Linked DNA regions of Homo sapiens: all the other regions are linked to region 1. The links are contacts of gene promoters, found by promoter capture Hi-C in blood cells and fetal thymus (Javierre and others, 2016). All regions are on one chromosome and are shown on one strand. The core of a region is centred on a gene start or on the middle of the fragment in contact, and the rest is flanking DNA. Distances in the headings are between cores, read along the strand shown. Region 1 holds the start of SHB (SH2 domain containing adaptor protein B). Region 2 has its middle 130 kb from the start of ALDH1B1. Region 3 has its middle 25 kb from the start of SLC25A51. Region 4 has its middle 160 kb from the start of ALDH1B1. Region 5 overlaps SHB (SH2 domain containing adaptor protein B).

Region 1 (2,521 bases), core at 6-2,505:
AGAAGAGACTCTTGGAAAAGACATAATTATGGTGCCACCCGACTTAGGAACTGGCATCCAAGTCCACCTGTGTGACTTTCCTCTGGGCCTCAGTTTCTCCATCTGTAAAATGAGGTCCTGTATTTATTTTTTGAGACGGAATCTCCCTCTGTCGCCCAGGCTGGAGTGAAGTGGTGTGATCTCGGCTCACTGCAACCTCTGCCTCCCAGGTTCAAGCAATTCTCTGCCTCAGCCTTCCGAGTAGCTGCTGGGATTACAGGTACCCGCCACCACACCCGGCTAATTTTTGTATTTTTAGTAGAGACGGGGTTTCACCATCTTGGCCAGGCTGGTATTAAACTCCTGACCTCGTGATCCACCCGCCTCGGCCTCCCAAAGTGCTGGGATTACAGGCGTGAGACACCGCACCCGGCCGAGGTCCTGTATTAAATGGATCCTTGCCAGCTCCTACAACATAAGGCATTAAATGTTCCCACAACTTGCTCCCCGCCGGCTGGCAGCGAACAGGGCTAAAGCCTCGACTTCCTCAGAGGTGAAAAGGTAAGCAAACATTCCGACCTCCCCTAGCCTTGCTCTCGGATTGGTGCTGGGCCCGGCTCCCACCGCCTATCCCGACCACATCCGTCATCTGGACTGCTAATACACTCATTAGCATAAAGATTCCTCCGAAGACCTGGCGCACGGGGCTGAACCGGAGTCTGTCCCTTTAAGGAAGAGGGACAGCCACTCTGTCCCTAAGGGCACTAGGCACTGCATTTCCTCCACACGGGCCACGCTGTAAACTAGACAGGTTCCGTGTTAATCCACTCTCCCTCCTCAACCCCGACAGGGGGATCCCTGGAGTGAACAACGCGCGGGGTCCCGGGGGACTGCGGAAAGGTTTGGCCTCTGCGCGTAGCAGGCTCCGCCAGGCAACCTCTCGCCCGAGGCGGCGGCGAGCTGCAAGCTAGGTGGAGCCGGCTGCGCGGCGGGACCCCAGCGCCCTGGGGCAAGACCCTGGTGCTGGCGCCAGGGCAGCCGCGGGAGGTGGCGTGTGCAGGAGCGGAGAGGTGCGCCCACCCCGGCCCCGGGCGCGAGGGGGGCGGGGCTTGGGCCGCGGCCCGGGGCCAGGCTCGCGGGGATGGGCGGTGCTGGGTCTGCGGGAGCGGGCGGGGGGCGGGGCGCGCGAGCGGGCTCCGGGGGGGCGGGGCGGCGGCGCGGGGCGGGCTCTGGCGGCCTGAGTGTCACACACGCGGCGGCTCGGGAGGCGGCGGCAGTGGCAGCGACAGGCGCCGCCGGGACGGGCACGGGCGCGCGGGCTCCGGCGGGCGCCGGCTGCCTTCCTCCGTCGCTCGCTGTCTCTCCCGGCCGCATTCTCCTCCGCTGCGGGGCCGAGCTCTCCCCAGCGCTCGCAGGAAGGAAGAAGGGAGCCGAGGACGCCGAGAAGTTCCCGCGGCAGCCGCGGATCCCGGCCAAGGCGGAGGCTGCGGCTCCGACGGGGCAGGAGCGCGATCCACGGCGAGGGGCGTACGGCCAAAGGGTCCGCGGCGTGGAGCGCTCGGACCTTCCGCTCTCCCCCGGGCGTGGGCCGGGACCCCATGAGACGCGCCCACGAGGGGCGCGAGATTCCTAGCTTGGGCGGCGCTAGGCGGAGGGAGGTGTTGCAGCCGCCGGAGCCAGAGAGCTGCCGGCAGGAGGCGGCGGCGGCAAGAACTTGAACTTGGCGTCGGGAGCGGGCGCCCCGGACGCCCCCCGCCGGGGCCGGGGCGCCGAGGGACCTGCGCCGCAGCGCTGCCCCCCGAATGGCCGCGGCGGCGGACCGGGCTCCCGCGCCGCGGCCCTAGGCGGCCTCTCGCCATGGCCAAGTGGCTAAACAAGTACTTCAGCTTGGGCAACAGCAAGACCAAGAGCCCCCCGCAGCCGCCGCGGCCAGACTACCGCGAGCAGCGGCGCCGAGGCGAGCGGCCTTCGCAGCCCCCCCAGGCCGTGCCGCAGGCCTCCTCCGCCGCCTCGGCGTCCTGCGGTCCGGCCACCGCCTCCTGCTTCTCAGCCTCTTCGGGCTCGCTGCCCGACGACAGCGGCAGCACCAGCGACCTCATCCGCGCCTACCGCGCGCAGAAGGAGCGAGACTTCGAGGACCCCTACAACGGGCCTGGCTCGTCGCTGCGCAAACTGCGCGCCATGTGCCGCCTGGACTACTGCGGCGGCAGCGGGGAGCCAGGCGGGGTCCAGCGCGCCTTCTCGGCCTCGTCCGCGTCGGGCGCCGCGGGCTGTTGCTGCGCCTCCTCGGGCGCGGGGGCCGCCGCGTCCTCGTCCTCGTCCTCCGGCTCTCCGCATCTCTACCGCAGCAGCAGCGAGCGGCGGCCCGCCACGCCGGCCGAGGTGCGCTACATCTCCCCCAAGCACCGCCTCATCAAAGTGGAGAGCGCCGCGGGCGGTGGGGCCGGGGACCCCCTGGGGGGCGCCTGCGCGGGCGGCCGCACCTGGAGCCCGACGGCCTGCGGAGGCAAGAAACTGCTCAACAAGTGCGCCGCCTCAGCCG
Region 2 (2,521 bases), core at 16-2,515, 190 kb before region 1:
CGGGAGGCTGAGGCAGGAGAATGGCAAGAACCTGGAAGGTGGAGCTTGCAGTGAGCCAAGATTGTGCCACTGCACTCCAGCCTGGGCAACAGAGCAAGACTCCATCTCTAAATAAATAAATAAATAAATAAATAAATAAATAAATAAATAATAAATAAATAAAAATAAAAATGCAAAACATCAGCCAGGCATGGTGGCAGGTACCTGTAATCCCAGCTACTCTGAAGGCTGAGGCAGGAGAATTACTTGAACCTGGGAGGCAGAGGTTGCAATGAGCAGAGATCACACCACTACACTCCAGCCTGAGCAACAGGAGTGAAACTTCATCTAAAAGAAAGAAAGAAAAAGAAAGAAAGAAAGAAAGAAAGAAAGAAAGAAAGAAAGAAAGAAAGAAAGAAAGAAAGAAAGAAAGAAAGAAGGAAGGAAGGAAGGAAGGAAAGAAAGAAAGAAAGAAAGAAAGAAAGAAAGAAAGAAAGAAAGAGAAAGAAAGACAATTAGCACCAGTTATCTTCCTCACAACATTCTGTTACAAAAATATTCAAACATACAGGAAAATTTTTAAAGTTATAAAGCAAACACCCATATACCCACCAAAATTAACATTTGGTCATATTTGCTTTATCATCTATCAATTGATCCATCTGTCTATCCATCTTATTTTTAAATGCATTTTAAAATAAGATACTAAAAAATATGTTTTGCCCAGAAACACTTCAACATGTATATCATTAACTAGAGTTCCATATGTATTTACAGATTTTTTAAAGTAAATTTTTATATAATCAAATGCACAAATCTTAAGTCTTACTATTCAAAGAGTTTTGCCAAGTTCATCCACTGATGTAATTCAAACCCTTCATCAAGAGATAGAAAATATTCTTCACGCCAGGAAGTCCACTCATGCTTTTTCCCATCCAATTCCCACTGCTCCCGCCTCCACCTGCAAACACTTTTCTGTTTTTTTCTTTTTTTTTTTCCTACCAGAGCTTAATTGTATCTGTTCTAGGACATCATGTGAATTGAGACATACCATAAAAGGCCTCTTTCAGTCAGCCCAGTGTTTTTAAGATTCATACATGTGGATGTGCATATCACTAATTTTTGTCTTCTTTGCACAGAGTCGTATCCTGTTGTGTGGATATACCACAGTTTGTCCACTCTTCTGTTGATGGACACCTGGGATATTTCTAGCTTTTATCCATTGTGAACAAAGCTGCTATGGACTTTTGGTTTTTTAACAATTCTTTTTGTGGTCATATGTTTTTATTTGTCTTGGGTAAATACCTCCCCTCCAGAGGATGCAGCGTTCGAGGCGCTGGATTTTATTAATGTTTAGATTTATAAGAAGGATAAAGCACCACCTACCTTCATGTCCTCTCCCATCCTTTGCCTCAGTGTAGATGTAAGCCAGCTGGTGCCATCTCCCTCCCTTCGTGAATTCTGTGTGGAGTCCTCTTCCTGGTTCATCCTTGTTATTGTGCCTTGCTCAGGACCACTCCAGGCCACTAGGTATGCTTCAGTACTTGTAACTCTTATAGGGCTGGGAATCTTTATCCCTTTCTTTTCAGGAGTCCTGCTTCCTTGCAAATGCTCCTATCTCTCCCTCAGAAACCTCCAACCTCCCCACATCAGTTGATGGACATTGGCCTCTATCTAGGCTGATTCGAAGCTCTAAGTGAGCTCTAATGTTCTACAAGCAGGTCTGATTACCCATCGTCACCAGCCTGAGTTCTTTCTGGGCCCATTCAGAGTGGCTAGGGAAGGAGCTGTGAAGCAAGGAGCAGACAGTTGGATTCCTATGACCTGGTCCAAAGATGCAGATTCAGAGCCAACTCCCTGGCCCACCAGACTTTAGCACCTCTTATCTCCCTTGGATGTCTACACTCAGGCCTCATTGCCCACCTGTGGAGGGGCCACCATCTGCAGATGGGCGATGGGGCCTGAGTGGGAACATGAGCGCTCTCCAGCCTCAGTGAAGCTCAGCCTTCACCCAACTGTGTATCATACATAGCACCCCGGTTAAGAATGAGGACAATGGACACAGACACCCTGGTTCCAGACCTGACTCTGGCCGTCTTCACGTGTCTCCTGTTGCTTCTGTTGTGATAAATTTCAAATATAATGCAAACTAGAGAGAGAGGAGCTGCTGCTGGCTCTGCTGAGTTCCTTCTCACCTTACACAACCTGAGCTTTATGACCTAGAGCAAGGTACTTCCCTCTGAGCCTCAGGTTTCTGTCTGTAAAGAGCCATACAAATGGCAGATAGTGGGGTGTTACAATTGACCTATGAGCTTGGGCAGGCCAGGTGAGCCCAGGTAAATGGAAGCCCCTACTACCATTTCATGTGGCCCCTCCCTCTTGAATTCATGCCCAGTCATTATCTCCATCACCCTCTTAATCCTCACCACAGCCTTGGGAGGGGGTGTGGCCGTACAGGAATTATTAACCCCTTTTACAGATGAGAAAATTGAGGGGTAAAGCAGAAAACTGGCCTGCCACATCCCCATGAGGGAGCCTGGGT
Region 3 (2,521 bases), core at 15-2,514, 190 kb after region 1:
TTCAGTAGAGACAGTTTTGCGCCAGGCTGGTCTCAAACTCCTGACCTTAAGTGATCCACCTGCCTCAGCCTCCCAAAGTGCTGGGATTACAGGCGTGAGCCGCCGTGCCCGGCCATCAGTAATTTTTTAAAATGTCACTTCAATAAATGCTTTTCCTCTGCCATAAAGACCAAACATCTTGCTGTGGCCTACAGGAGACAGGATGATCCAGCCCTTGCCTCCCTTACTCTCATCTCTAGCTAAAACTGCGCTGCTGTCTCTGCACTCCAGCCACTGGCACTTCCTGATTACTTGGGGCACGCTGTACTCATCTTGCTCCCAGCCTCTGCCCATGCAGGTGCCCTCTGCCCTCAGCACTGCCTTTCTCTACTTCATTTATAGACTGCTGTCCTTCAGATCTCGGTTGAAGTGTCACTTCCTTGGGGAAGCTGGCTTACACTCTCAGGACTCGGTTAGGTTCCCCCGTCAGGCTCTTCTATGTCACCATGTTTCTATTTTTCACAGCACTTAACCTGTTTTAATTACGTTGCAAATAGTTTTTGTTTGGGTCTAGAGAAGCATGTATTCACTAGTACATTTTATTTGTGTTCTCTAATTATTTTTTCTGCAGCTAAATTAGAAATTTGTAGTTTTCCCCCTAAAAATGCAATGATGTTTTCTCTGATTTTCTTGTCACCTTTCTTCCAAAAAATCCATGTGTTCAAAGTGCTTGCTTGCAGTTTGCCCCATAATAAATGGTTGTTTAATCCAAATATCTGAGTAGCAAACTGAGCTGATCCTTCTGGAGAAAGTATGGTTGAATAGCCGAGACCACTGAGTAGTCGCAGAGAAGACCACACATCCTGAACTCCTCAGTCTGGTGTGAGGGGAGGACAATAGATAACTGGATGTGTAGTGTTCCCAAACATCACTGATCCCAAACCATTGCTTCTGCCTGCCACTGCCACAAATACAGTACGACTGCCACCCCTTCATACTCAGCTTTAATCCTCAGCATTTCTTCTGGTCCTTTATGTGCAGATGTTACTCAAAGTCTACATGGAATGCCAAAATTTCCACAGGCCTTGATTTTTTTCACGGTGATTAAGATCAGAAGTAGAACCCATCAATACTATAACACTGCACTGACTTTCTGATTTCAAAAGCAACTCTACTCTCTACAACCCACGCAAAGTTTTTCCTTACCATTTGGAACCCTTCAGGAGTTACACTGAAGCCTTGATAAGACTGTTTCAGCCAGGAGTGGTGGCTCACGCCTGTAATCCCAGCACTTTGGGAGGCTAAGGCAGGAGGATTGCTTGAGTCTGGGCAACATGGCAAGACTGGCTCTATTTTTTTAAAATAACATTTTTAAAAGTATGATTAAAAGACTGTCTTTCTATTGGCTTTGCTCCCCCGATGGTGAGTGTCTCTAGGAGTCATTATCAATAACATCAGTGAGAATTTCTTTGCTGGTCACATGAACACCAAATTCAATCTTCATATCAACCGGTGTACAGTTCTGGGAGCAACCGGGATTTCTCCGGGATTTCAAAAACAGCCTATGTGGCATGACTCATGATATCCACTTCAGTTTTATACCAAGTGCAGCAAAGCCAAATTTTGCTGCAATTAGCTGTTGCCTAGACCACTGTGGGTCATGATTGGCATCATCCTTGAAAAACATCTCCACTTTAGGTGGGCAAAACTCACATCCTTCCTTGACACCAGGATTTCTTTCGAGTGAAGAACCAGTTGGTATTCTTCTGCAAACCATTCAGTTGGAATTATTTCACACTGGGGCACAATGAAAGCTGTCTCCTCACATTTTCTGGTGAAAGCAGTTTTAATACCTGCTTCCTGTAACAACAGAAAAATGCAACTGGTAATTTTATTTGAGATTGCAGCTTTTCCTTCCAGGTGATTCTGACTGCATTTCCTGCTGTAATCTGGTCCTTAGATTGCAGGACTTTTCCTGGCCTATCTAACAAGCAATTCATAGACCTCTTTTGTTTTACCCTCACATAGTTTTTTAGCAATGTTCAGTACCTCAGCTCTCACTATTATCCTGAGTGGGATGAAAGTTGCACCCATGCTGAGAGGCAGAAATCTCTGTTGTGAATATTTGATACCTCTTGCTTTATTTATTTATTTATTTATTTATTGACACAGATTCTCACTCTGTCACCTAGGCTGGAGTGCATTGGCGCAATCTTGGCCCACTGCAGCCTCAGCCTCCCAGGCTCAAGCGATCCTCCCATCTCAGCATTGCCAGTAGCTGGGACCACAGGTGTGTGCCACCATTCCCAGCTAAATTTTGTATTTTTTGTAGAGACAGGGTTTCACCATGTTGCCTAGGCTGGTCTCAAACTTCTGAGCTCAAGTGATCCACCCACCTCAGCCTCCCAAAGTGCTGGGATTACAGGCATGAGCCACCATGCCTGGCCCTGTTGCCTCTTTAAAAAGCCAGTCCTGGCAGGGCACAGTGGCTCACGCCTGCAATCTCAGCATTTTGGGTGGCCAAGGCAGGAGGATCTATTGA
Region 4 (2,521 bases), core at 12-2,511, 170 kb before region 1:
GCAGAGGCCAGGACCATGGCCAGAAGCTCTCACAGAGCAGAGTACCAAGAACTCTGCTACCGGCCCCAAGTCCTGCTAGCCACAGCTCACACGGCAGAGCTGCTTGCACTGGGCACTGGATCCGCCAGCTGCCCTGCTGCCACCATGACCCTTGGAGGCTGGGGCTGCTGCTGCACCAGCATGGAGCCTCCACTGTCTGTGTCACTGGAGCAGATGGGAGCGAGTGCCTGTGGCCTCACTGCTGGGAGGCTGGAAAATAAGTGTCCAGCCTTTTCTGCTTCTACTGTGAGAGCCAGACTCTGACAAAGCATAAGCGGGGCACTCAGATGCCAGGATGGCTCCCAAAGGACAAATGTCCACTCCAGGGAGACCTGCTTACCTACAGAGCTCTGGTCTTACAGAATGGACTAATCAAGTTTGGGGCCAGAAGTAAATATCTCAGGAGAGTAAAAAGAGGATTAATGTCACCGTTAGCTATCCCTTCTCTTTAGATAAATGTCAAGGCTTTCATTTTGAAGCTGTGTTAAGCTGTTTGCCTGCCTGGAGGGACATCTCTATGTCTCAGTTAGAGCCTGGCCATTTCCCAATCATGAGTTCTATCAGGTCAGGCCAGGAAGAAGACTTAGACCCTGAGACTCAGGGACGTCTAAGCTGATATCCATGGAATGTGTCTTAATGACCTCTCTATAATTGTGGTAACATGGCTTGGGAGTAGAGTTGCCTGCGTTCTGGGCAATGATCATTGCAATGGTATGATCTGTGGGAAGAAATAGAAATGCTCTGAAGTGGGGAAAGGACGAGAATATAGTCACATATGCTTTCATTTGTGCCACATGCCTGCCCACCCCAGGAGGGTCCCCTGGGACTGGGGGTGACACCGTTGCATGGTCCTCCACCCTCCCCCACCTTATGGACTTTCACTTATCCATGGCTAATCATTCTACAGACAAAATTACCAAGGCCCAGAGAAGGTCCTTTGTCTGCCTGAACCCAGAAATTGCAGGAAAGCAGGCAGAGTCAGGCTGCACCTTTTCCTTAAAATCAGGATCAGCTTGGAGTCCAAGGGGCCTATACAGACAGCTTCTGCTAAAGACCCTAACATGTCAGTGACTCACAGTGAACATTTATTTCTGGCTCACATCCATATCTGCTGTGGGTCAGCTTTGGCTCTGACCCACACCACCCTCATTTCAACACCTAGACTAGATGAAAACACCTTATTTTGCTCCCATGGTAGGAAAGAAAGAGCAATCATGGAAATGTGTGACGGCTCTTGGAGCTTCTGCTCAGAACTGGTTGTGTGGCCAAACCTGATGTCAGTGGGGTGGAGAAATTATACAATCTTCTCAGAAGGAGGGCAGGAAACAGTGGGAAGCAATAACACAATCAACTGCAGAGCCATCCTTGGGAAGCCACCACAGCGGACCCCTCCAGCGTCTCCTGCTCCTGACCCACTTGTCCTCCAAGTTGAGCCCCCAGCTGTCCCATGCCTCCTGCCCCTTCAGCTCTTTTCCTAGAGTTTGACCCAACAGTCCTAGTCCCATCTTTGAGATGTGGGGACTGAGGCCCACGGAGGAGACACAGGTCACCAAACTCCTCCCTAATGCCCTTCCCTGGGCAAGTGGCTCCATGCCAACCCCATCTTTTTCCGTGCGTCCCCTGCATCCCTCAGAAATACCTCTCTGTAGAGCACCGGCTGCATACCTGCTATGAAACTATATGCTTCTCACTGAGTCTCCCAACCACTTTGTGTAGTCAGTAATATCGATTATGCCCATCTCGCAGATAAGGAAACTGAGGCTTCCAGTGTAAATGACTTGCCCAGGGTCATACACAGAGATGGTACAAACCAGTTTTGCCCAACTCCAAAGCGTCCCACCACTGCCCCTCACACTGACTCGAATCCCTTCCTCCCCAGCCCCTGCCCACATTCATGGCCACCCAAGGTGTCATCCGCGGTCGAGGTGTCACAGCCACAGGACTGTCTCCCTCCCCACCTGCTCTAATCTTTAATTCAGACCCACCAAGCCAGCCCTTCAGCTCCCATTGCCAGCCACAGAAATGAGGATAAATGCGGCTGTCAGCGGCTTCCTGCCTCTTTGTTTTTTAATTTACTTAGAGTTGGGCAGCAGAGATGGCAGGAGAGGAAGCAGATGGCTCAGCATGACAGATGGGATCCTATCCAGTGACACAAGGACAAGGTGAGGAGAAAGCGTGATCAAAAGAAAGCGCAGCCCCAGTGCGAGAGTGCACTGCTTGAGCTCCCGTGCCAGGACGGCAGCACTGCAGCCGGCCTGCCAGCCTCCAGGGCGCAGGCTGGCACCTCTCAGGGCTGGGGCTCCAGACCTTCAGCCAACAGTGGGGACACTGAGGCTGGGAGAGTGACTGCAGCCTGCCTGGAGTCACCCAGTCAGCCATTCACAGAGCTGGGACTAGAACCTGGGACTGGGTTTGAAGAGGGCAGCTCCTGTCCCACCTCTGTCCAACCTCCTGAGGAGGATGGCAGGTGAGTCGATAGCAC
Region 5 (2,521 bases), core at 9-2,508, 140 kb after region 1:
GGTGGGAACCCTGAGGGGGGACTACAAAAGGCATCCAGCGGGATCCACCCACCAAGTGTCATTGCCTTCCCACTTACACACCCCTGGTAATGGGAGGCTTACTCCCTCAGTCTGAGCGCTCATCATTTAAAAACTTCTTGTCTAATAATGTGTTGGTTTTCTCATGAGAAAAATTGCCCAAAATGGGTTCATTTTGACATACCTACTGCTTTGTGTGCTAAAACGAGCCTTATGCCTCTACATGTTCGCCAGGAGAGGCATCTGCCAGCTCTCCTGCCTAGAGATGGCTTTTTGTCATGATTTACTGAAGGCCTTCACCCTGGGCCACCAACTTAGAGCTTGAGAAATGCCCTGGCGTCTCGGGTAGGCTAATCGCTGCTGATGCGTCTATTGAAAGTCTAATTATTTGGTTGTAAATCACGTCATTTTGCTCAGCAGCGTTTACATTGAGACGTTTGTTCACAATAACTTGGTGTGTGTGTCTTTGGCTTGTCACTGTGAAGGCTGCTTTGGAAGCTGTGGGCAGGATGCAGGTGTTGGCCACGTGGCCTCCTAAGCTCCTTTATCCCAGCTGCCTTGACTATTAGAACATCTCAGCTAGAAGGAGCCTCCATGCCCCCTGCCCCACGCCTCAGACAGCTGGAGAAACCAGTCACACAGTGAGATGCACTTACATCCTGGTCCCCTGGCTTGGGAAGCCCTGATAGCCTTGCATCGTGACTGGGCAAGTTGCTTCTCCCTCAGACCCTTAGTCTTCTCATCTGTGCAGTGGGTATCTTGCATATAATGCCAGCCCTCCCAGCTTCCTTGGGAGGCCACAGGTTAGTCCAGTCATGGACCAAGGGAGCATTTAAGGTCTTCTCAGCCATGCCAGAGGTAGGCCAGGCCCTGTGTGAGTGGGATCTGCCTGGGCTCTGGGTGAGTAATTGGACCACAGAGGTGGACTGTTGAAATATTTGCTGTGGAGAAGCCACATCTCTCACAGTGTTGGGGCAGTGTCTGTAAGGAGGTAGCCCAGGTCCAGGCTACAGCTCTCCATGCATTTGGGATTGTTGGCTTTCTGCTAAGATAGCAGGGCCCTCTCTTTGCTGAATGCTGTACTGAAACAGTGGCCTAATTCTCTTCAGAGATCTCTACCGCCTCTTTATCTACCACACATTGAGGGAGAACGGGGTCGTGTGTCTGCCTGGCAGGCGGGCACCCACTCTGGCTCTGTGAAGATTCAATGGACTTGTGTTCAGTCTCACTTCTCGCCTCAGTGGCTGCATAGTCCCAGGCCAGTCACTTGAGCCCTCTGACTCTGTTTCCCCACCTGGAATCTGTAGGCCCATCTCTTGGTGTTGCTGTGAAGAGGTACATAGAGCTCTTGGCAGCATGGCCACAGTCGGTAAGATGGGTAATGCTGTGCTTCTCGAATCTTCTAGCACTAGTGTTGCTGAAGTGGCTGCATCCTGCTCGCGGGTGTGAGGAGGAGAGTTTCTTTAGAGGCATAGACCTAGCAAAATGTCCCACTTCCCTGGAGGTCAAAGAGGCGGCAGGAGGAGAGCAGAAGTTGTGAGTCATAAAGGCACTGCTTTCAAGAGGCAGAATTGCCATCCTCAGGGTGGGGGTGGGGTTATGGCAGGAACTACCCATTTTGCAGGCTTGTAGGTGACCACGGAGGTACCTTGCCATGGTCACCCTCCATGCTGGCTCTCACCCACATCACAGCAGGTTAGCATTAGAGCTGGGCCTGACTCCCTTCAATTCCGCACAAACTTCCCTGTTTGCCTCCACCCTGTTGGAAGCAAGTACATGTCTGTGGGGGTGGAAGGGCCCTTCCCCATGCCAAGCATAGAGGCAGTGCTCCCAGGGATCAGAGTGTGAGCACTCGCTGCCCTGCTCCCCAAGGCCAAGGGACCTGCGACACCTCCCTCACCTGAGAATTATCTGGCAACTGATGGTTGAGTGCACTTTAAATGCACAAGCTCATTCTGTCTCTCCTTCCAACAACCTGGCCCAGGAATCTTCGCACAATGTAAGATTTAAATGTTTAAAATGGCCCAACAGCTTTGTGCCACATTCTTTGGGGTAATGGAAAATAAAGTCATAAGAAAGAGTAGGGGTAAAAAATAGCAAAATAAAATAGCCCAACAAGAAGAAAAGACGCAGCCACTTAGAGCCTGAGTAGGGAGGGGCAGGGCCAGCGCTCACATTACCCCTTCAAGAAGACCATGATTTTGCAAGGGAACTTGTCTCACTTTCATGTTTTATTTAGGCCTGGGCAGGGGACACTGGGCGGCTGAGTGGCCTCAGGAATAAGTCCTTTCCAAATCCTAAGGGAAGAGGGCTCTGGTGCATTCTTCCCTGTGGCCTCCCTGGGGGAGACTTTCTGATTTGAAAAGCGTGTGCCTGTGTACTCACCTCATAGGGATGACCCTCCGGAAGCTCCCCAGTCCTTCCCACTCTGCCAGTTCTCACTGGCTCGTCCTGGGACTGTTGCTGACTGGAGAAAGCATCCACTGTATCCAGCCTCAGAGTG

The links. Contacts are between HindIII fragments. The CHiCAGO score rates a contact against its expected background, and 5 or more counts as called.
Region 2: a fragment that was not itself captured here is called in contact with the fragment with the promoter of SHB in region 1 in 3 of 17 cell types (endothelial precursors, M0 macrophages and M1 macrophages); the score reaches 9.1 in endothelial precursors.
Region 3: a fragment that was not itself captured here is called in contact with the fragment with the promoter of SHB in region 1 in 1 of 17 cell types (M1 macrophages); the score reaches 5.1 in M1 macrophages.
Region 4: a fragment that was not itself captured here is called in contact with the fragment with the promoter of SHB in region 1 in 2 of 17 cell types (M0 macrophages and fetal thymus); the score reaches 5.3 in M0 macrophages.
Region 5: a contact is called between a fragment that was not itself captured here and the fragment with the promoter of SHB in region 1, in 8 of 17 cell types (M0 macrophages, M1 macrophages, endothelial precursors and 5 more). The highest score is 13.1, in M0 macrophages.

What each region holds. Positions count from the first base shown.
Region 1 is chr9:38,067,961-38,070,481 of GRCh38, reverse strand. SHB (SH2 domain containing adaptor protein B) reads left to right here and starts at 1,255. Exons shown (of 6, transcript NM_003028.3): 1 at 1,255-2,521. The coding sequence starts at 1,837. RefSeq lists silencers at 845-1,654, 2,075-2,124 and an enhancer at 2,015-2,521. The HindIII fragment of the contact is 5,108 bases long and covers 1-2,521 here.
Region 2 is chr9:38,258,963-38,261,483 of GRCh38, reverse strand. No RefSeq gene overlaps it. Among named protein-coding and RNA genes, the nearest start is that of ALDH1B1, 130 kb to the left of the region's middle. The HindIII fragment of the contact is 8,269 bases long and covers 1-2,521 here.
Region 3 is chr9:37,877,631-37,880,151 of GRCh38, reverse strand. It overlaps a transcript of SLC25A51 not described here and the pseudogene PAICSP1. Among named protein-coding and RNA genes, the nearest start is that of SLC25A51, 25 kb to the left of the region's middle. The HindIII fragment of the contact is 5,529 bases long and covers 1-2,521 here.
Region 4 is chr9:38,233,095-38,235,615 of GRCh38, reverse strand. No RefSeq gene overlaps it. Among named protein-coding and RNA genes, the nearest start is that of ALDH1B1, 160 kb to the left of the region's middle. The HindIII fragment of the contact is 4,391 bases long and covers 1-2,521 here.
Region 5 is chr9:37,925,288-37,927,808 of GRCh38, reverse strand. The region is part of intron 5 of SHB (SH2 domain containing adaptor protein B); the gene reads left to right. Among named protein-coding and RNA genes, the nearest start is that of SLC25A51, 22 kb to the right of the region's middle. The HindIII fragment of the contact is 2,669 bases long and covers 1-2,521 here.